Regions from separate parts of the Homo sapiens genome. Here all the other regions are linked to region 3. Evidence: promoter capture Hi-C in 16 types of primary human blood cells and fetal thymus (Javierre and others, 2016). All regions are on one chromosome and are shown on one strand. Each heading gives the region's core, a stretch centred on a gene start or on the middle of the fragment in contact. The rest is flanking DNA. Distances are from core to core; before and after follow the strand shown. Region 1 has its middle 11 kb from the start of DEFB1. Region 2 has its middle 20 kb from the start of DEFB1. Region 3 holds the start of MCPH1 (microcephalin 1). Region 4 overlaps XKR5 (XK related 5). Region 5 overlaps LOC124901872. Region 6 holds the start of LOC107986909 (a long non-coding RNA gene). Region 7 has its middle 380 kb from the start of MCPH1-DT.

What was found. The method cuts DNA at HindIII sites, captures the fragments that hold promoters and counts their contacts. A CHiCAGO score of 5 or more calls a contact.
Region 1: a fragment that was not itself captured here is called in contact with the fragment with the promoter of MCPH1 in region 3 in 6 of 17 cell types (total B cells, fetal thymus, monocytes and 3 more); the score reaches 14.4 in total B cells.
Region 2: a fragment that was not itself captured here is called in contact with the fragment with the promoter of MCPH1 in region 3 in 4 of 17 cell types (total B cells, fetal thymus, total CD4 T cells and 1 more); the score reaches 9.6 in total B cells.
Region 4: a fragment that was not itself captured here is called in contact with the fragment with the promoter of MCPH1 in region 3 in 14 of 17 cell types (naive B cells, fetal thymus, erythroblasts and 11 more); the score reaches 32.2 in naive B cells.
Region 5: a fragment that was not itself captured here is called in contact with the fragment with the promoter of MCPH1 in region 3 in 17 of 17 cell types (total B cells, fetal thymus, total CD4 T cells and 14 more); the score reaches 74.1 in total B cells.
Region 6: a fragment that was not itself captured here is called in contact with the fragment with the promoter of MCPH1 in region 3 in 17 of 17 cell types (fetal thymus, total B cells, naive B cells and 14 more); the score reaches 35.7 in fetal thymus.
Region 7: a fragment that was not itself captured here is called in contact with the fragment with the promoter of MCPH1 in region 3 in 1 of 17 cell types (erythroblasts); the score reaches 5.3 in erythroblasts.

What each region holds. Positions count from the first base shown.
Region 1 is chr8:6,865,395-6,868,443 of GRCh38, reverse strand. No RefSeq gene overlaps it. Among named protein-coding and RNA genes, the nearest start is that of DEFB1, 11 kb to the left of the region's middle. The HindIII fragment of the contact is 4,410 bases long and covers 1-3,049 here.
Region 2 is chr8:6,896,138-6,898,870 of GRCh38, reverse strand. It overlaps the pseudogene RPL23AP96. Among named protein-coding and RNA genes, the nearest start is that of DEFB1, 20 kb to the right of the region's middle. The HindIII fragment of the contact is 1,709 bases long and covers 465-2,173 here.
Region 3 is chr8:6,405,049-6,407,876 of GRCh38, reverse strand. MCPH1 (microcephalin 1) reads right to left here and starts at 1,250. Exons shown (of 14, transcript NM_024596.5): 1 at 1,188-1,250. The coding sequence starts at 1,209. It overlaps MCPH1-DT (MCPH1 divergent transcript), which reads left to right and starts at 1,329. Exons shown (of 2, transcript NR_040040.1): 1 at 1,329-2,171; 2 at 2,757-2,828. RefSeq lists silencers at 989-1,168, 1,429-1,508. The HindIII fragment of the contact is 9,682 bases long and covers 1-2,828 here.
Region 4 is chr8:6,826,499-6,829,644 of GRCh38, reverse strand. The region is part of intron 2 of XKR5 (XK related 5); the gene reads left to right. Among named protein-coding and RNA genes, the nearest start is that of XKR5, 7.5 kb to the left of the region's middle. The HindIII fragment of the contact is 429 bases long and covers 1,488-1,916 here.
Region 5 is chr8:6,781,091-6,784,056 of GRCh38, reverse strand. It overlaps LOC124901872, which reads right to left. Exons shown (of 3, transcript XM_047422507.1): 2 at 2,242-2,345. Among named protein-coding and RNA genes, the nearest start is that of MIR4659B, 37 kb to the right of the region's middle. The HindIII fragment of the contact is 3,638 bases long and covers 1-2,966 here.
Region 6 is chr8:6,806,568-6,809,644 of GRCh38, reverse strand. It overlaps XKR5 (XK related 5), which reads left to right. Exons shown (of 7, transcript NM_207411.5): 7 at 1-1,128. It overlaps LOC107986909 (a long non-coding RNA gene), which reads left to right and starts at 1,743. Exons shown (of 2, transcript XR_001745769.2): 1 at 1,743-2,330; 2 at 2,861-3,077. The HindIII fragment of the contact is 2,234 bases long and covers 349-2,582 here.
Region 7 is chr8:6,020,610-6,023,804 of GRCh38, reverse strand. No RefSeq gene overlaps it. Among named protein-coding and RNA genes, the nearest start is that of MCPH1-DT, 380 kb to the left of the region's middle. The HindIII fragment of the contact is 2,298 bases long and covers 517-2,814 here.

The sequences.
Region 1 (3,049 bases), core at 1-2,500, 460 kb before region 3:
AATCCTTGTCTGACACATAAGTAAATGGGAGTGGCTGTGCTTCCATAAAACTGTGTTCAAAAGAACAGGCAGCAAGCCAGATTTGGCCAAAGGTCATTGTTTTCCAACCTCTGGTTTAGGGGATAGACCTGATTCTGTCCATTGTTTAGAAGGAGAACTTCCATGAAAATGGATATTTCCAGTTAACTCCCAATATACATACACTTGTTCATGGCTGCTTTCTTCTGAAAATACATGAACTATCCAAAATATTGAAAAATAATAGTTTTTTAAAATCACAATAATAAAAAGCCTTGGGAGAAATAGTTATTCCCCTGCCTTTATCTCTTCTGTTAGATCACGGACTGATGGTAATTTATGAACAAAAGCCACTTGAGGCTTTTTTATTATTAGTCCCAAATCTTGGAAGACAACAGGTTTTTAAAAGAAATTTAGTGAGCTGTCATGTGGGTGCCCCTTTGTTCTGTTCTGGACAGGCATGAAAGCTGATTCACTAACTTCTTATACCATTCACATTTTTGATCAAGGTTGTTTTATGCCACGAAAGCCTGAGAACCCACAAATATCAGCAGAAAAATACACGCTTGTCACAATCAGTCAAAATACAAAACAGTGCTATAACAAAAATTGCTCAAAATACTACTCTTCCAATCAAATCTACTATTGGCCTGTTTTTCCCAGTATACTTCTCCAATCTGAGTCGGCACATAAATTTTTTGTTTCATCATTGCACTCATCGGGTATATGGCATTTTGATTCCTGCTGTTTCTGTACACACAGTGCCCTGGTGGCTTCATCTCATCCACCGTGGTCCTCTTTAAGGACTGCACCATGCTGGGCCCAGCCTATTCACCAAGGGGGCAGCATGGAGTTCTCTCTTCTCTCTTAGTTGCATCCATCTGGCTTTAGCTTAAGGAGCTGCAGAACTCCCCCTCCTAAGGGAAAAAGGGGGTGCTTTAAGATCCATGGAGGGGTGTTTTTGAATGGCCTTAGTAGATGCTGTGCACAGAAGACACAGCCTCAGGAAAGGCTGCTGGGTTCTTCACATCCTTAAGGAACAGAAAGGGAAAAGTTTCCATTTAGAGCAGTCCTTGCCCAGAACATGTCAAACCTGAATGCTGAGATTCAACCCAATTTCTTCCAACCAGCCCAGACTGAACGGTGACTCAGAACTCAGAGTGACTCCGACAGTGCCTCATTCACCTAAAGGAAGACTCCTTTCTGAAAAATGAACAGCGTAGAATGTTTTAACCAAATGTGTGCAGACTAAAGACCCTGTTGCTGCCTAGTCAGGGTGCAGCCCTCCACATTCACTGGCATAGTCTCCAAGTGCAAGCACCCGCCATTCTTTACAAGTGAAACCTGATCTTCCCCCTCCGTGAACCACACAGGGACTTGATTCGCTTGTTCCCTTGTTGACAGGCAAATACACTGGTGCCCACTGGGGATCACCCCGCTGGTCATCATCCACAAGACCTGGAAGAGGAGGAGGAGACTCCCATAGCAGGAGGGGTTACAGGCTCTTCTCTAGAGGAAAGCCACCTGGCTCTCGCTGGAGCTCACCCAGGTGCAGGAGGACCAGAGGTCCACCATGGGGCTGGGGACTGACCCCCCATCTCAGCCTCACCTTACTTGGTTCTCCCCTGCCTCCCTTGCTGCCCTGTTGTGGTGGGCCAGGTCTCACTAATGTAGGCCTCCCTTACAACTGTCCCAGCACTGACTGAGCAGCTACATTAAACATTAAAGCTAATTGAGCCAGTGCCCTTATACAAAGGCTGGAATGTAACAACGAGCCCACCAAAAGTTTTCTCTAGGCTTTTCGTGGGCCTTGGAGCATGACAAGATAATGAAGGGATTCTTAACAGGACCTTCAAGTTTAAACAAGTTTTACTGGGGGTCTGAATAAACCCCCCAGGCCTCCATAGACAAGTTTGTTGGGGTCTACAGAACTCCCCAAACCTTTATGATTCATCAGGAGACAAGATAAGGGTAATCACCCCACCACCTAGACCCATTTAGATTAAGTAAATTTACTGAGGATCCAGAAGAAAGTCTTCAGGATGGAGACCTTAGTTATAGATTAAAAGAAGTTAATCACTTATGTCTTTCGATGAGTGCACACTTACATGTAGACCTACAGTTTAGAAGGTATATAAGCTCTGGAAAACTGTGTAATTTTGAGTTGGTCTGGTTATCATTTCCAGGCCTTCTTCCTGTAACTGGTTACAGAAATAAAAACTCTCTTCCTCCCCAGTTCATTGGCCTCTCATTATTGGGCCACAAGAAATAGCAGCCTGACCCACAGTTTGGTCCAGGAACACTGTGACCTGGCAGACCCATTCCTTGAAGCATGTCCCACAGCCAGGTGACCTGGGCACACACCCAGGAAAAGCACTTTCTCCTAGGCTGGCCCCAGGAAGACGCACCCACACTGGCCCCCTCCCCAGCTGGCCAGGGGTCCTGCTGTGTGTTTGATTATTATTATTTTTGTTTTTTTCTGTTTTTGTTTTTTGAGATGGAGTCTTGCTCTGTCACCAGGCTGGAGTGCAGTGGCATGATCTCGGCTCACTGCAACCTCCTTCTCCCAGGTTCAAGCAATTCTCCTGCCTCAGCCTCCCAAGCAGCTGAAATCACATGCGTCTGTCATCACGCCCAGCTAATTTTTATATTTTTAGTAGAGACAGGGTTTCACCATGTTGGCCAGGATGGTCTCGATCTCTTGACCTTGTGATCCACCCTCCTCGGACTCCCAAAGTGCTGGGATTACAGGCGTGAGTCACTGTGCCCGGCCCGTGTTTGATTATTGTAACTGACATCAGACCAGACATGCAGAGAGGTGTCATCACTGCCCCCTCCCAGCTCCCTGGACTCATTCTACCTGTAGAGACCAGACACCTACGGAGGTAAGTAAAGAGTCTTGCTTAATTGGGTTTCTGATTTTGTTTTTGTTTCAGTTTTGTTTTGCTGTTTTCTAAAAACCAGGTTCACTGATAAACACGCGGGAACTGCCGAAATGATTGCTCCTGGGCTTAGTCAAGTCTGACCTGAC
Region 2 (2,733 bases), core at 70-2,569, 490 kb before region 3:
GCCAATTCTAAATATACATATATAATACATATAATACATAATATAATATATATTATATATATAATATAATATATATAATATATAATATAATATATATAATATATAATATAATATATATAATATATAATATAATATATATAATATATAATATAATATATATAATATATAATATAATATATATAATATATAATATAATATATATAATATATAATATATAATATATACATACATGTAATATAATATGTAACATATGTGATATATATCATATATGTGTGTGTGTATGTGTATGTGTACATATACACATATATGATATATGTTATATATGTGTATATATACATATATATGTGTGTATATATACATATACATACATATATATGTATATTACCAGAAAAAAGTATATGGCACAAGAAATAAATGTTTGCTTTTATTTGTCTGTTTGTGAGGGTCAGATCTTAAGAAAAGCTTACAGAAGTCAAGAGTGATGGTGATGCCACAACTGGAAAGATTGGGCCCATGGAGTTTCTTGCCCCAGTGAGGGTGCTGCTGCTTTCCAGCAAGGCTGTTTTCAAGCCGGAAACCTGAGCCTTTGTTCAAAGCCTGTCATCTCTCCAGTGTCCTGAGCAGACCACCGGGAAGGTGCAGTGGAGATGGTTTCGGGGAGGGTTGGAGTCATGGCTGTAGAGTACAGCCAGGGGTACCACTGGCTCACAAGTCCTTTCTCTCTATGACAGAAACCAAACTGCTGGTTGTGTGTCTAGAGACAAACCTGGGAACCTGTGAAAATTTGAAAGCATTGAGCAACCCCTACCAAGAGCATTCCCTCAGTCCCTGACACCAAAACACCTGGCATCCCAGGTGAAGGCCTAGCTCAGCTGCCATCTCCAGGAGGAAACGGAGGTCTCACCACAGCAGCACACTTGCTATCCTATCCCTCCAAGACGCAGCAGCGCAACTGCTCCATCCAGTGCCTTCATTTCACTGCATCACTGGCTAGTGGAGTCACTGTTTAATATATGAATGTTAGCAAATTCCACGATCACACAAATGAAAATATCTACACCTGGTATTTGCATTTGATATATAAACATGTTTGTTGTATGATGAGAATGACAGATATCCTAGCCCAGGGTGGTATCCAACAAGTCCTATGATTCACAGCAGCTCCAGTGCTCTGAGCATGGGATAAATACTCAACCAGGGGTACACAGCAGGCCTAGAATAGGTGGAAGGGCAGTCGACCCCAGCTCAGGGACATTGCTGGGAGCCCAGGGTGGCCCACACAAGTACAGGGAGTAGGAATCCAAAGATGATTGAGATGAAGTGCCCACCTTCAAGGAGTGTGAGCCTCCAGGTGCCTACAAAAACAGCAAAAACAGTAAGGCCCACCATCGCTGGCTGGGTGACAGGCACTATCCTGATTTCATAACAACATTTAATCCTTGCAACAATATTTTGCAGTAGATACTGGTTATTGTCACCACCTCACAAATGGGGAAACTGAGGCACAGAGCATTAGGTAACTCCCCTAACACCACCCAGTTCCTCACAGTGGGTAACCGGGGTTTTAGCCTCCTGAGTCTGCAGGTCTGCCATGCTGTAGGGTGCAGCCTAGTCCCATAACCCAAGCCAGGAGGTGAGGAAGGTTTCCAGGCTGCATGAAACTCTCCTGGAGGGAGCTGATCCCATTCTGGATCGTAGATTCCAAAGGAGGAAGGTAAAAACCTTAGAACTCATGAGGGCCACACTCATACTTAATAAACGAGGAACCAAGGCCACGAAGGCACCCCGTGAAGATTCTGGTTGGGCCTTGCTGGGAGCATCCAGCTTGCTCTTCCAGATGGCTGGGAGTGTCTGGCAGTGCTTGCCGCTTATGGACACAACACAAGCAGTTTGCTTTGATGAGAAAGCCTGGCTCTAAGCCAGGGCTCACATGGCAGGTGCATGATGATTTACTAAGCATGTAGGGACCCAGAATCCAGCACCCAGCCTGGCCTTCCACGGGCTTTGCTGGGAAGCAGCTATGCTGGTTGGTAGGCGGTAAGGAGGAAATGAGGGTTTACAGAGGTAGGAGGGAGAAATTGGGGGAGAGAGTACACCCCCTTTTTCCTGATAAGACAGCTGTTCCATTACATCCTGAATTACCCTACTCTCAATACTGTTAAACAATAAAGCTTGCTTGGTTTGGGACACTTTTAAACGCAGTTGTAATTTTGAAGTCCATAGGTAGAGTTAGGGCAGGATTTTGTGAAGATCTGGGCCAAGACTTGCCTCCGACCTGGTCTCTGTGCCCAGCTCATTGGCCTCTGCTGCCCAGAAGCCACCCTGCAGTGAGTGAGATCCAGGACTTAGGAGCAAAGTCTGCCTTCACATGGGTAAACTGGTGGCAGCCCCAGAAGCAACCTGCTCTTACGCCAGGCCATGAGCCCCAGGAGTCGGATTCTTCCTTCTCCACACTGTTCTCTGGTGTGTTTTCCTCACCTCCCTACTTGTTCCTTTACCTTTTCTTCCTATCCTTCCTTGACTCCCAGAAATACCACAGGAACAGAAGCCAGAAGACTCAGCATCTACAGACCCAGTAGCTGGGAGACACAAGGCAAGTCGGTCCACACTGTTGAACATCAGTTTCCACCTCCAGAAAATGGGACCTTGGGGAAGATGGATCTGCTATACTAGTCTCACAGGCTGAGGCAGTGATCATATGAGAGCGTGTGTCCCACAGGACCTCTTACATGC
Region 3 (2,828 bases), core at 1-2,500:
CTTAAAAATGTAAAAGACATTCTTAGCTCGTAGACCCTTACAAAAACAGGCAGCAGGCTAGATATGGCCTGGGGGGCATAGTGAGTGGACCCCTGTTCTAGTGGATATCCTCTTCTCAAAACCTGATGTTTAAAAGCATTTTCCAGGTGTGCCGTTGGTCAATGATTGGGGGTAACGCTAAAAGAAAACCAGGTTAATTTAACAAAATACTAACATTAGAAAAATAGCCACATCTGATTACAGACTTTGTATAAAGCCTCTAGTCTTTACTTTTGGCTATGAGGTTTTATGACTCCAGGCCCCACAATACAGGCCCCTTTTTTCTCACGGTCAAACTCTACAAGACACGTGTCCGCTATTCCCCTCTCCTGGGCTCTTCCAGGTGCACAGAGGGTGGGACTGCGTGCGGTATCATATACTGGTTAGGACAGCAGCTCCGGTCTAAGGCCCTGTCAGCACTGACTAGCCACACACAGGGAGAGTCACCTAAACGTCCGATGCCTTAGTTTCTGCCTGTAAAATGATATAAGAGAGTTGATAGAGCGGTTAAAAAAATCAGACAATACCATACTAGCCTAAGCACAGCGCCTGGCACACAAAGACTCCGCAGTAAAAGGCGGCTCCTATTATTGGAACAATTAGCATAGAAACTCAACTGCCGCTCCTCCAGGTGGGCCTCAGAGGGGGTCGAACAGGACCAGACCCAGGAGGGCCCCACACCAACTTCCGGAGGGCAGGACTCTGCCTGCCAGTGAGCCCCAGATCCAGGGACTAAGGCAGCAGGGGTGAAAGCAGGTAGGGGGAAAGGCGGGATTTGGGGGACAGGCAGCATGGGGGAGGGAGCAGGCAGCGGGGGATTGAGGGGAACTAGCAGCACGGGGGTTGGGGCACAAGCAGTACGGGGGAGGAAGCAGGCAGTCGGGGGTTTGGGGGGACAGGGAGCACGGGAGACGAAGCAGGCAGCCGGGGGTTTTGGGGGGACAGGCAGCGGGGGAGAGAGCAGGAGCAGGGGGTTTTGGTGGGACAGGCAGCGGGGGAGGAAGGAGGCGGCAGGGGGTCTGGGGGAGACAGGCAGCGAGGGAGGGGCGAGCGGGGCTCCTCCCACGGGATCCCCCGAGTGCGCCCGCGACGAGGGGTGCCGGTCCTCAAACTCCCGCTGCTGGAGCAGGCAGCAGGAAGTACCTCACCTTTCAGGATGGGGGCCGCCATGACAGACGGCGGGATCCGGCCAGCTGGCCTACGCGGTGCTTGCGAGCCTGGCGGCGCGCGCGGGCACTGGGCATGCGCGGGGTGAGCGCGCCGCCGTCACCGCGCTCCGCTGAATCCGCGTTTCCGGGATTTCTCTGTAGGTGAGGCGGGAGGCTGGAGGGAGCTGAGCCCCCGGGGAGGGGGCCCGATTCCGCCTCGCCGCGCCTCTGGCTGCTGGGCCGTGGGTTTTTCTCTTCTCCTGGGAGTAAGGAGGACGACGGCCCCTAACCCCTGAATTAGCCTTCTATTTCCATTAGTGACTTAGAAGCTACCCGGCGCCTCATCTGGGCTCACCTGAGCTGAGGATCAGGAAGGGGAGGGGGCACAGTCATTCCCTCGCGGACGCGGCGGGACCCCAGCGGACGGCTTTGTGCGGACTTTCGGCACCGTTATGCCCCCCTAGCCCGACACCACCTGGGGCTGGCGCGCCACGTTACTGTTCAGGGCCAGACGCACCGCCCTGCCTGCTCCGGGGAGCCGGACCTCCGATCCCGGGGATGGGGGACCCCGAGACCTCAGACCCAACGGAGGGGACTCTGATACCTCAGACCCCACGCGGGGACCCCGAGGCTTCAGACCCCCACAGGGTGACCCCGAGATCTCAGACCCCCGCAGGAGTACCTCCAGACCTCAAATCCCCAGTAAGGGAATGAAAGAGACTTCGGATCCCTGAGGCAGCAAATCCCTGTAGGGGCATCCCAGGACTCAGGTCACCGCGGGGTGAACCCAGACCTCACATTCAGGCAATCCCCAGGACGCCGATCGGCTGGCACTACCCACTGTCCCGGCCACCCCCCCTGGAGCTCAAAGGCTTGGCCCTCCAGCTGCTCCACCCTGCCGGCAACCAGGCTCAAACCTGCAGCCCGCGGATCCCCTGCCCCGGAAGCAACCAGATTCGCGGGAGGTTACCTGACTGATCCAAGGTGATACAGCTGGTAACTGATGGAGATGTTGGTAGTGAAATTCATGTACTTTTAGTTCTTTCTATGGAATCTAGAGGTAGAATACATGTAAAAGAATATCGACTACCGTCTACTCAGGTCTCTGTTTTATCTGTTTATTCATTCACTCTCAGCTTTTAATAGGATCCAATGAGCCCTCTGTGGTTCTGAAGAATTGCCTTGAGTATATGCAGCCTCAAAAAACCCACTTCCTAGGCTCAGTCTTTGATCAATATTTATCATTATCACCAGTTATTGTTCTAATAAACTCTACTCTGGAAATATGGTGTTATGGTTTACTTGGGAGTGTGAGTTCAGGGCATCATTGAAGACTCACGTACTTTTACTGAGAAAGTGACATTGATCTCTGTAGATTTTGAATTAAATGATATGATGAAGTATATAAACCAATTACTTTTGGTCAAGGTGGTAAAAAAAGTTTAGTATTTGATAGATTCTTCATCTCCACGATCACAAATATTTTCTCCTAGGATTTCTTCTAGAAATATTACTGCTTTAGGTTGTATATCAGGTCTAGGTTCTACTTTTTTTTTTTTTTTTCTCCAGGCAGTTTCTCACTCCGTTGCCCAGGCTGGAATGCAGTGGTGTAATCACAGCTCACTGCAGCCTCAACCTACT
Region 4 (3,146 bases), core at 453-2,952, 420 kb before region 3:
ACTCAGGAGACTGAAGCATGAGAATCGCTTGAACCTGGGAAGTAGAGGTTACAGTGAGCTGAGATCACGCCACTGCACTCCAACCTAGGCAACAGAATGAGACTCAATCTCAAATAAATAAATAAATATAAAAAGGCAAGGATTTAAGCCATAAGTGTATTCTTTTTAACGTTCCCAATAATACATACTATGTTCATTTTAAGTCTGACTCTGTTCAAGAGAACCTGACATTGGTGACCACTTATTTAAACAAAGACCATTACTTTCTTCTACTTAGGTTTTTTACTTACACTTTAATACTGTATGTTACCAACATCTTTTTCATCTTTCTTTTTAAGCCCACAAATCCACTTGTAAATGCAGCATGAGATGACAGAAGAAGGCCTATCTCATCCTTAGCATGCACCTTGGTTTAGCAATTTTTCTTTAGTGAAAGTTCAAGGTTGTCAAAAGGAAAGTTAAGGTAAACTCTAAAGGTATGTAAGACAGGTTCAGCATAAATGGGTGGAGATTTAATATTTAAAAGTATATAAAATATAGCCCTAGCCCTGGAGGGCCCAGTCCTGCCTCAGGATCCCTCGAGTGAGGCTTGAAGGCTGTTGCGATTTCCATCAATGTAGGGAGGGAACAGGCGTTTCCGACACAGCAAGCTGCAGCCGCTGGTGCAAAGACATAGATGCGTGCCAGAAGTGGTGTATATGGGAAATTAGGATGAGGTTCTTGAGACTAAAGGGTAAGAATTTCCTAGATGGCAGGAATGTGGCAGGAGATAAATGGGCTGGACCATGAAGAAACTTTTCTACTGGATTAAGGAGTTTGGATTTTATCCTCAGGCATTGGAGACCTGTTGGAAGGGTTTGAGCAAAGGAATAATATGGGCAAATGAGCCTGTAGACAGATGGCACCAGGGACAATAAAATGCAACAGAGTTGGGAGGGACGGGGTCCATGCAGGCAGCCAGAAATCCAGGCAAGTGCTGATAAGGACCTGGAATGATGCAGCGACTGTGAGGACAGATGTCGGACACCATCTCATAGGACCTAGTGACCAAATCCCCACGCTCTCCATCCCGCCTCAGCTTCCTCCCCGGCTTCCCTAGTGGCTGTCCAGGGGTCTCAGCCTGAATTTCTCCCTCTGCAATGGGTTCGAGACAGCTCGTTTCAGAAAACCGGGCTAGTCACCTTCCCACTGGTCCTCTGTTTCTTACAAGAGTAGCCCCACAACTCAGCCTCTCCTGGCCCCCGCCTTACCAAGCACCAGATATTCGCTATTCCCAGACATGGACCTTCATTTCAGTGCCTTGTACCCTGTGCCACTGACCCCAGACACTCCTTTAGGCTCTTCCTACCATCTACCTGTCCAGAGTTTGCCTGTCCTCCTCTTCCAGGAAGCATTCCCTGACCACCTTATTCTCTCTGCCTGTGACTCTGATTCCACCACTACCCAAGCCACTCATGTTGATACTTATATTTCTTCCTCTTGAAGCTTTTCGCATTTGTATGTTTTCTTTCCACACTGAATCTTAGGTTTCTAAAAGACATCTTTCATTTCACTTCCCCCCTTTTCTTTTTTTTCACGAGAGTCTTCTGCCTCTGTCACCCAGGCTGGAGTGCAGTGGCATAATTATGGCTCACTTGCAGCCTTGAACTTCTGGGCTCAAGTGATCCTCCCATCTCAGCCTCCTGAGTAGCTGGGACTACAGGCACCCACCACTATCCCAGCTCTTTGTTTTGTTTTGTTTTGTAGACATGGAGTCTCATTATGTTGCCAGGGCTGGTCTCAAACTCCCAAGCTCAAGCAATCCTCCTGCCTTGGCCTCCCAAAAAGCTGGGATTCATTTCTCTTACTTCGCCTGTGGTCTGTAGCAGGTGGGCCTCTCAAAGCCCAAGAAAAATGCATGTTGAACAAACAAAGCTTTCTGGAAGAGCAAGAAGAGGAAACTACCCCATGTCAGGAACAAATGATTTGAGAGTGAAAAGAAAACTACTGCCTGCCCTCATGGTTACATTTTTTAGTGTCATATGTTTTTCTTAACATTAAGTTTATGTCAGGAATCAAGACACAGTAAGAAATGGGTTCACTCCAGGATTCCAAATCATGAAAAAGGAAAGTTGTTTTTCTTAGACATCTGTCCTGGGATCTCAGCACCATGAATAAAGCCATTTCAAAGAGGAGTCCCCGAATCTTCTGCTCTGGACATAGAAATGTTTGCCACCCATCAGGGTCCAGCTTGTCACCTGCCAGTCAGAGCCTTAGGGGTCTCTACAGGGAGTTTTGCAGGTGACCTTCGAGATGCATCCAGCTTGGCTTCAGGAGTTGCTAAATTGAAGTGACCTCTAGTTCTTAAATTGAACAAGACAGGGAAGCAGAATCCAGTGGGTTTGCTGGGCAGCAGGCTCGTGTGCAGGCGGCTGTGGTCATCTCCTTATTGCTGCTGCTAGGTAGACCCAGAGAGGAATTGGTGGGTGGTGGCGAAATCTGACCTCCAGGTGAGACTCGAAGCCTGAGAGCCCGCTGGTGTGGTGGGGAGTGGCTTCGTGGTCATGGGTTCTATGTGGATCTTCAGGTTGTAAGGAAGGTGGTCTGTGCCACTTTCTACTTATGAGATGAAGTTTCCAGTAAAGGTGCCTGGCATAGGCTCATGGGAAACAGACTGAAGCAAGGACATGTTCTGACTTCTTTCTTGTTGCTTGATTCCTTTTCCGAGAGCCTCGGAGGACCACCCAGGCTGGGTGAGCAGATGTGTCCCCGTGGCCCTGGGCCACCCCATCCTGTAATCCACAGTGCAGAGATCAGCAGCTCTCTCCGCTGCCTGGTTCTCGGCTTCCACCCACCCTTGCTGGTGTCCCTTTCGTATCCAGGCCCCTTAGTGGGAACAGTCCCCAGGGTGCTGTCCTTGGTCTATGCTGTCTTCACACAGTCTCTTCTGGCCACTTCCAGTCCCTCAACCACAACTGGTCATCCAGATCTCTCCTTATGGGGGCTCCACCCATCCTCACATTCCTCACTGCTGAAGAAATTCATATCGTGGCCAATCCAGCACTCCTCACCTGGCTTATTTCCGTCGGTAGCACCACCATTTCCAAGTCATTTAGGCCTGAAACCTCAAAGCCACTGCAACTTCCCTCATCTCCCCTGTTCAGTCA
Region 5 (2,966 bases), core at 416-2,915, 380 kb before region 3:
TTCTGTGTTCTGTTTTGCTCCTGGCGCTCACGGCAATTCATCATAAGAGATTTGCCTGTGTGCTCAGTGACTTAAACAAGTAAGCCCCTCAAGAGCAGGGGCTGTGTCTGATTTATAATAAACTAGCATGGCATGGAACACATAAGAAAGAGTTTGGTAAGGCCGGGAGTTGTGGTCACGCCTGTAATCCCAGCAGTTTAGGAGGCCTGGGCGGGCGGATCACGAGGTCAGGAGATCGAGACCATCCTGGCTAACACAGTGAAACCCCACCGCTACTAAAACTACAAAAAATTAGCCGGGTGTGGTGGCGGGCACCTGTAGTCCCAGCTACTTGGGAGGCTGAGGCAGGAGAACGGCGTGAACTCAGGAGGCAGAGCTTGCAGTGAGCTGAGATCGAGCCACTGCACTCCAGCCTGGGTGACAGAGCCAGACTCCGTCTCAAAAAAAAAAAAAAAAAAAAAAAACAAAAGAGTTTGGTAAATAATTGTTCGTTGCATGGATGAAACTCCACAAAGGTAGATTAGTGGGAGGCAATGGTTTGTCATTGTTCAATAATTGAAGAATTATTTCATCCTAACAATAATAGACTCTGTTAGAATGAAGAAGTTAAAGCCTCAGAAGGCAATAGCAGTTTTTAAAATCTGTTTGAGAAAATGAATGCTAGCTGGACTGGCCGAATCACGTTCTCCCATCTTGCTAGTGACCTACGTTGTCCTCTGGAGACAGACATAATATATTTTATATCAGTTGTACAATGCTTAATGTGTATATATGTATGTATATATACATTATGCATCCATATATACATAAGCATTGTACAACAAAACTTCATATACCTTTTTTCCTTACTTGTAACCCCCTAGATATTTTTATTACCCCATTTTATATAAAAATGCATGGAGGTGAGAAAGAAGAACTTTCTGCAGATCACACAGTCTGTAAAACAGGATTTAAAACCAGGTTTTCTGACCCTGAATCCAGGGCTCTTTGAGCCATGTTGCCCATGCAAAGGCTAAATTCTGTTCATTCCTGGAGCCGTAGTACCAGTAATGGTAATGGATGGGTATCGTACCAGCAAGGTTTTCCAGTGGCTGGGGTTCAGAAAAGCTCTGGTTATATCAGACTGACCTTCATGTTTTCAACAGGTCAATGCCTTTTGCCGCTGGGACTTCAGGGCAATGAAATAGGAAGTGCGCCTGACCATCACGAGATGTGAAGGATTCCATGGCCGTGATTCCCATATTCAAATGGGATTTTCCAAGTGGAAAGACAGCAGTCACTTAAACACAGGCCTCAGAGGCCAATAGGACCCATCCCCGCAGCTATGCAGACATCACCCATGGAAAATTAGCCTGCATCAGTTTGTCCGGTCCCGGGAGGGGCATTCTCTAATGGTTTCGTGGCTGCAGCAATGGAGCAATTCTATTTCACGCTGTCCCAAGAGAGGCCTTCCAATGTAATGACTCCCCACAGTTGTAATTTTCCTTTCATTCATTTGCTTCCTTACATTTGGGGAGGTTTCTTTTCTAATGAAAAACTGAGCCAAAAAAAGAAAAATAAAACAATTCTTGCTTTTAGCCTAAAGTTGATAGTTTTCGACGAAAAAACCTCCCTGTTAAAAATTTACATTGGGCATATACCCAATAATGACATTGCTGGTCAAATGGTATTTCTGGTTCTAGATCCTTGAGGAATCACCACATTGACTTCCACAATGGTTGAACCAATTTACACTCCCACCAACAGTGTAAAAGTGTTCCTATTTCTCCACAGCCTCGCCAGCATCTATTGTTTCCTGACTTTAATAATCGCTATTCTGACTGACATGAGATGATATCTCACTGTGGTTTTGATTCATCACACACTGGGGCCTCTTGAGGGTTGGAGGACAACGAGAGAGAGAGCACTGGGACAAATACCTAATGCATGCAGGGCTTAAAACCTAGATGATGGGTTGATGGGTGCAGCAAACCGCCATGGCACATGTATACCTATGTAACAAACCTGCACATTCTGCACATGTATCCAGGTCTTAAAGTTAAAAAAAAATCTACATTGATTTCCTGGGACTTCTTTGAGTGAGTTCTATTGTCTTCAGATAATAATTGCAAACTTTATTTAGCACACGATGTGCCAGACATGATACACTCTTTCACTTGATTTTTCCAACAAGCCACAGGAAAAGGACTGTTACCGTCTCACATTTTGCAAATAAGAAAACCAAGGCTCAGAGAGACTCACCCAGTAGTAGCAGGGGACCTCAGGCTCTGCCAAAGACTCATCTGGCTCCAGAAACAGCTCACTCGGCCACAGAGCTCTTCTATCCTCTGCCAGCTTCGATCAACCTGGAAATGGACACACTTTACTATTAATAGTAAGCCCAAGAATAATGATCTAAGCATCATGTTCATATGTGGGACTATGCATATCCATAGAGACGTGGGCTCAAACCACGTTTTAATAACATTCCACAGCACATTTCTTCCCAAGACCTTCTTCAGACCTTGCCATGTGCATTCAGGAGCATTATTTCTCATCCTGTGAAAGCAAAGGAATGACTGGAAAGAGAGTCATGTGGGACATTTTCTCCATGTCTGTGGCTTCTGAAATCCCCAAACACCACAGGACTCAAAGGCTTGGGGTGCTGTGATGCCCCTTCTCTGCAGCTCTTGGACACCGTCTTTTTGGTTTGTGTTTGCAGCAAATATCTTTCCTTGGGTGCCCAAAGAGAAAGCAGAAATACCTGTTTTTGCGAGGAGCAAAAACCGATTCCCCCACCATGTGTCGGCTCCATCTAAGCCATTTGTTGGGGGGACATCCCTTTCTCCTCAGAAAGCCCCCAGTCATGCAAAAGACAGTCATAGATCGATGGGAAGGACTGACCCAAATTCCTGGGCTGTGAGATTGGGGAAGTGTGACATGGTACAGATGTGTGTCCCCTCCAAGCCTCATGTTGAAATGTGATC
Region 6 (3,077 bases), core at 216-2,715, 400 kb before region 3:
ATGCAGACAAGTGGCTACAAACTTTCCATACAACAGGTGAAGATAACGAGACTTTGGGTCGGATGCAGGGGCTCACACCGGTAATCCCAGCACTTTGAGAGGCTGAGGCGGGAAGATCACTTGAGGCCAGAAGTTCGAGACCAGCCTGGGCAATGTAGTGAGACCCCATCACTACTAAAAATACATAAATTATCCTGGTGTGGTGGCACACACCTGTAGTCCCAGCTGCTCGAGAGGCTGAGGCACGAGAATCAGTTGAACTGGGAGGCAGAGGTTGCAGTGAGCTGAGATCGTACCATGGCACTCCAGCCTGGGCGACAGAGCAAGACTCTATCTAAAAAAAAAGCTTGTTAATAGAACAAAATCATTCATAGTTCCATTCACTGTGCTATCCCAGCATCTCAGTCCTTCCTCCATGCAGTCTCTCGCCCAGCCAGGTGAGAGCATGAGCACTTCCCTGAGTCCTCACCAGCCCTCCCCATTTGTCCTCCAAGACTCCACTCAAACATCTCCTCTTGGTGCCTTCCTGGGCCCTCCCCAGCTCCAGCTCTCCCAGACCTACCCTCTGTCCCCAGGTTGTATTCCACTGCCCTTTGCCCTCTGGTGACCTCTTCCTAAACTTGAAGCCCTGCCTCCCTGAAGGCTAATTAAGGGTTGCAGTCCTCCTTCTGGGCTAACTCCAAGGTCCAGCAGAGTGTCCAGCAAAAGTAGGCGTTAGAGCATTCAACAGCATGAATTCACTAACGAGCGGGGCTGTGGGCATGAATTTCAGCTTGAGTGCATATCCTGGATCAACGGCATTTGTGTTATGGGGTAAAAGTAAGGGTGGGATATGGGGAATTTGCTCATTCTTTTCAAACTTTCTAGCCCTTGAATAGCCTGGAAAGCTAGAAATACTCTTCATTCATTCATTCATTTAAGGAATATTAGTTGAGTATGACAGGCACTGAGTATGCAGAAATCAAGGCATGTACTTGCTGTTCGAGGCCCTGTGGACCAACATCGGCTTCTCAGATGGCTTCCTCACTTCATGCCTCCAGAAAGCATATTGCCCGGTGATGAAAAGGATCAGAAAATATACACTATATTTATTAGAGAAGACTAATAAATGGACACTTAATTCAAAAATGCCTGCTGAGCACCTATCAAATGCTAGTCATTAGGATCACAGAGCTACACAGAAGAAATGTGACAGGTGCTCACGGCGTCAGTGGGAGAAGCAGGTGAGAGCTTTATGGAGTCCCCTCTGAGACGGCTGCAGGAACCCACAGAAGGTCAGCTTAACAAGGACATGATTGTCATCTTCAGGGACCTGACACTGTTCTGTAGCGAGAGATTCTATTTTCTTCCTGCAGTTTCTTATGAGCCATGAAGAAACTCCTTAGGGCTCCAGACAGGTTCTTTAAGACAGAGTTACCCAAAGGTGGACAAGGCTGTCCCTGCAGACAAGTGCATAAAGCCAGAAGAGCCCCTTCGTGAAATGACTAAGAAGGAACCTCGAGGACTAGAAGATGCAGCTGAAAGTGACTTTCCAGGTCCTGACCTGGAGCTTCAGTGGCTGCGCATGGGCAGCAAGGAGCCACAGCAGCTGGAGACTTCAAGTCTGTTCCAGGACATTTTCCATTTTTTTTTTGTTTTTTGTTTTTGTTTGTTTGTTTGTTTTTTGGTAGAGATGGCGTTTCATCATTTTGGCCAGGCTGGTCTCGAACTCCTGACCTCAGGTGATCCACCCACCTCAGCCTCCCAATGTGCTGGGATTGCAGTCATGAGCCACTGTGCCCAGCCCACTTTCACTATTGAGAAGAAAGGAAGAACCAGAGAATGAAAACCAGTGCATCGGGAGACCTGAAGACGAGCATGTCGGCTCCCTGCTCTCGTGGAGCCTCTATGGGTCAGGTTTTGCAATTATCCACAATAACCAGCCTTGAGTATCCATGACGCTTCACCCCAGGAGAACTCATGCCTCTGCCTGTGGAAGGACACAGAGGACCTCAGTGGGGATGGAAGAAGGGCCTTCTCCTTGTCACCAGCTCCCAGGACTGAATACTGACTGCTGTCTTGGGGAGAAGGGACTGGATGGTGCTTTGGACCTCACTAGCCCCCATCTGGATCTTTATGGCTGGGCCCATAGAGCACGACCATGACATCTGGAGACAGCTGTGCTAATGCCCTTCAGACAAAGACCACCAGGAACCCCCTGTAACTGAACCAGTTGGGTTTATGACTCTTCTCGGCAAAGAAGCACGCACACCGTGGGGGACTGCGGGGCCGCTCAGTGAAAGGAGATTGGAAAGGAGTTACAGGATTTGGGCTTTGCTGGGTGAATCTGGGTGAGTCTAGGGAAGCCGGGTCTACTCAGGTTTGGGGGCAATGCTGTGACCCGGTATTGCAGTCAGTTGCATCTGTAGGGAGGGAGTCGAGCAAGCATAAAGCTGCCATGGGTAAAGAAGCAGTCATCACTCACTTAGTGGGAAAGGGGGAGCCTGGTGTTTTGTGGTTGCATGGTGACCTTTGGTCTTGCTGTGTCACGGTCTCCAGTGGCCACGTCAGAGGCTTCTCACAGAGGTGTCCTGTGAGAAGCTTTGTGGCCAACAGGAGAACACCAGGGCCGGCCTTAAGCATCGGACCAGGTCCCAGAGTTCCGGGACTGCTCTTTTCTTCATCATATTAGTGGTAGTTTTATAGATGTTTGGTAGCCTAAATATTATCTATTGGATCACAACCAAAACAGTAGCTTTTCCTGAGTCCCAGCGGCGGGTCACTCATCTTCCAGCTATGTCTGGACCCGAGTTTGCATTTCAGCCCATCCCGTCCTTAGTGCAGAGCGGACCTCACGTAGACCGGCTGCATTTGTCCACAGCGTACACTGATGTCCGGAGACAGCGGAAACAGCCATGTCTATCACAGAAGCCCAAGGTCACACAACCGTGACCCACCTGCCCGGGGGCGAGGCTGAGCCAGTGCAGATAGCCGGATGCTCCTCACAGGTCCGCAGGAAGGACAGGGGCCGGCGCTGCCCAGGCTGTGCCACGTCCAGTGCGTGAGAAGCTCCCGCTTGAGTCACCACGTCTGTCCCG
Region 7 (3,195 bases), core at 416-2,915, 380 kb after region 3:
GTAATTGTGGTAGCCTCTGTGGATGTAGGGAGAAGGAAAGGGGGAGAGAGAGAGAGGAGAGAAAGAGAGATTGTTCAAGGTATTGAGACTTCAGTACTTGAGTCATGAGAATGTTGTCTAAGTATCCTGGGCATAGCAACTAAACTTTTGTATATTTCTTCTTTATAAGGATCTTATACACAAGATCTTGGACTACTGTTGTGTTTCCCTAGAAATCCAAAGTCTGCTAGCACCCAGCTCATATGTCGTCACCCTGGGATGTCTTCCTGTGTATTGCTGTTGTCTTTGTCTTTCTCGGAGCACCGATAGTGTTCTGTGTACAACTCACTCACAAGACTTACATCAGTGAATCATGTGTAGATTGCTAGCAAGTATTCCTGGAGAAGTTACTGAAACTCTATGATTCAGTTCTGTAAAAGAGAAGATTGAAGTAGTACCCAACATGGTGTCGTTAGAGTATTAAATCAGACAATTCATAGAAATGGCTGTGCTCAGTGCCTTCCACTACATAAAGCTTTGATTCAGCGCTACTGTTGTTACCGTCTGTGTATTCCAGGACAAGACTGGGGATGGAATCAGACTCAGGTATTAGCGTATTCCTTTGAATCTCAGAGTTACAAAGTGAGGGTTATATAATGATTAATTGCACAAATCCAGATATTACCATAAACATTTTAGCAGCGACATATCCTGATGCTCAAATTCTCAACTGATTGCTTGGCCAGGGGCAAATGTAGCCATAAACAATCTTAGAGCAATTTTGACAGTCAGAGATATTTTATGTGACCATCTCCATTGACTTTGGAATTGAAAGATTCTACTGAATTGTCATATGAAGGATATTGCGATTATGTGAAATGGAAGAATGATGTGAAATGAAGAAAGAGAAATCATATAAGCTATAGTTGAAGAATACAGTGTATTCTTTTTTAATATACACATTGCAGCAGGTTTATCATTTGAATTTAAAATCAGAGCCGGATGTCCTTGTATGCCTTTTATTCAATTTTTCAGGGAGAAAATACTACTCTCAAATGTATCATGAAATGACATTACATTTACCACCCACCAGCCTGTGTTGACTGAATAGTCCTGAATATTCAGGTGCAAACTCTGAAAGTAAAACAGAAGTGAAGATATAAATACAATAGGCTCATTGTCTGTAGATAAACTGGAGAAATAATAAACTTCTTTTTCTACATAACATATGACATAGAGAATTTCTGATGCAATATTGAAAATGCCAGAAATGTTAAATCGGTAGGCAACATTAAGAACTATAGGAACGGTTTTGTTCTTGTGCTCGGCCACCCAAAAGAAACAAGAATATAGTACTTTCTCCCGTTAATGGTATAATGAATCCAGAACTGTTCTGTGGGATGTTTCTTAAACTTAGGAGGTGATAATCTCTCTTACCCTATACTTATTTCATTACAAATTAGTTGGAAATTTCTTCTTTAAAAAATTTCTCTTGGATTTATTTTCTTCTTTCCATGCTTGCTTTTGCCATTAAAGTTGAGCTCCTTTTCAAGTTTGGATTATTTTTGTGGTCTCTTGAAAAGTCTTCCCACTTGGAATGCATTCTAGATGATTGTATGGTGTTAATATTTTTACAACACTACTTTTATCATGTCACTTTCCTGCTCTAAAATTAATTATTACTGTCTATTTTTCTCACCTCATCCAATAAATAGCTGTTTCTTCACATTTTCAGGCTCAGCATTCTAGTCCCGCTTTGTCTCTCTCACTTATTTTTTCCCAATCATCAATATCATTGTGATTCACTTGGAGCCCCTGTTGCAAGCACTTCTGCTTCTCTGCGCCATGTTCCTTCTCCCCTTTATGCTTTGACCGCTCTGTCAGCTTCATCTCTTTTCTGCCTCCTGCGAGATCCACCTGTCTAGATCGATTACATCCTCAAAGCCTTCTTGCTGCAAACTTGGTCATCATTTACAAACCCAAATCAGCTCCAGTATGCCCTCTTGCACAGCAGTGGCTGTAAATACCCTGCTGCCATGGTGAGCACAAAGAATGCACAGTCTCTGGCAGCTTTCCAGGGTTGTGAGGTCATAGCTAAGTCTTAATATTCTTGTCTCCCACAGGACTCTTGGGACATCAGGGTGGGCTACCTGGTATCTTATCTGCAAGAGAGCCCCAGGGCTTAGAATGATGAGGGATTTGGAGTGATAGTTGGGTCCTGATATGGTTTGGCTCCCTTTCCCCATCCAAATCTCATCTCGAATTTTAATCCCCATCACCCCATGTGTTGAGGGCAAGGCCTGGTGGGAGGTGATTGACTCGTGGGGCTGGTTTTCCCCTGGCTGCTCTTGTGATAGTGAGTTCTCATGAGATTTGATAGTTTTATGAGGGGCTCTTCTCCCTTTGCTCACTGTCTCTCACCTGCGCCATGTATGACATGCCTTTGCTTCTCTCTCACCTTCCTCCATTATTGTAAGTTTCCTGAAGCCTCCCAGTCATGCAGAACTGTGAGTCAATTAAACCTCTTTCCTTTATAAATTACTGTCTCGGCTGTGTCTTTCTAGCAGTGTGAGAACAGACTAACACAGGTCCTGAGATTCATAGGTTAAAAATGGGTTGGTATATAAGCCCTGTCCCCACTCCCACAGTTGCTGGTAAGAGATAGGGAAAAATAATCAGGGAACAGGTTGACCATTTGCAGCAAGTGCATTTGAAGGCCCCTTCCAGGATGCTCTGCAGACTTTTCAAGTTCTTCAGAGAGGTCTTGGCATGAGTGAAAAAAACACACTCCTTTGGGGACTACAGGAGGAGTTGCCATTACCTGGAAAGGAAGCTTGTCTTCATCTTACAAAGGACAGTAGGATAAAGGATGTGGAGTGGAGAAAAAGACCTGAAAAGAGTAAAAGACTGTGGGCAGGGGATGCAGCAACAACACCATCAAGAAAACCCAAACCAGCAGGTACTAAGGAGCATGAGCCCCTGGGACAAACTGGGCGGGAGAAGGTGCAGAATGAGACAGAGACAGGAGGATGAGGGAGACAGAGGAGGATGAGGAAGAGAGAGAGGCAGAGAGAGAGGGAGAGAAAGAGAGAGGAGAGAGGGAAGACAGAGGCAGAAGGTGTCCTAGAAACTACTTACTATGTTGGTGCCCAGGTTAAATGCTATTGAGAATTATTGTAAACCCTCAGATATTGAGGGCTTTGTGTTCTGAGTCAA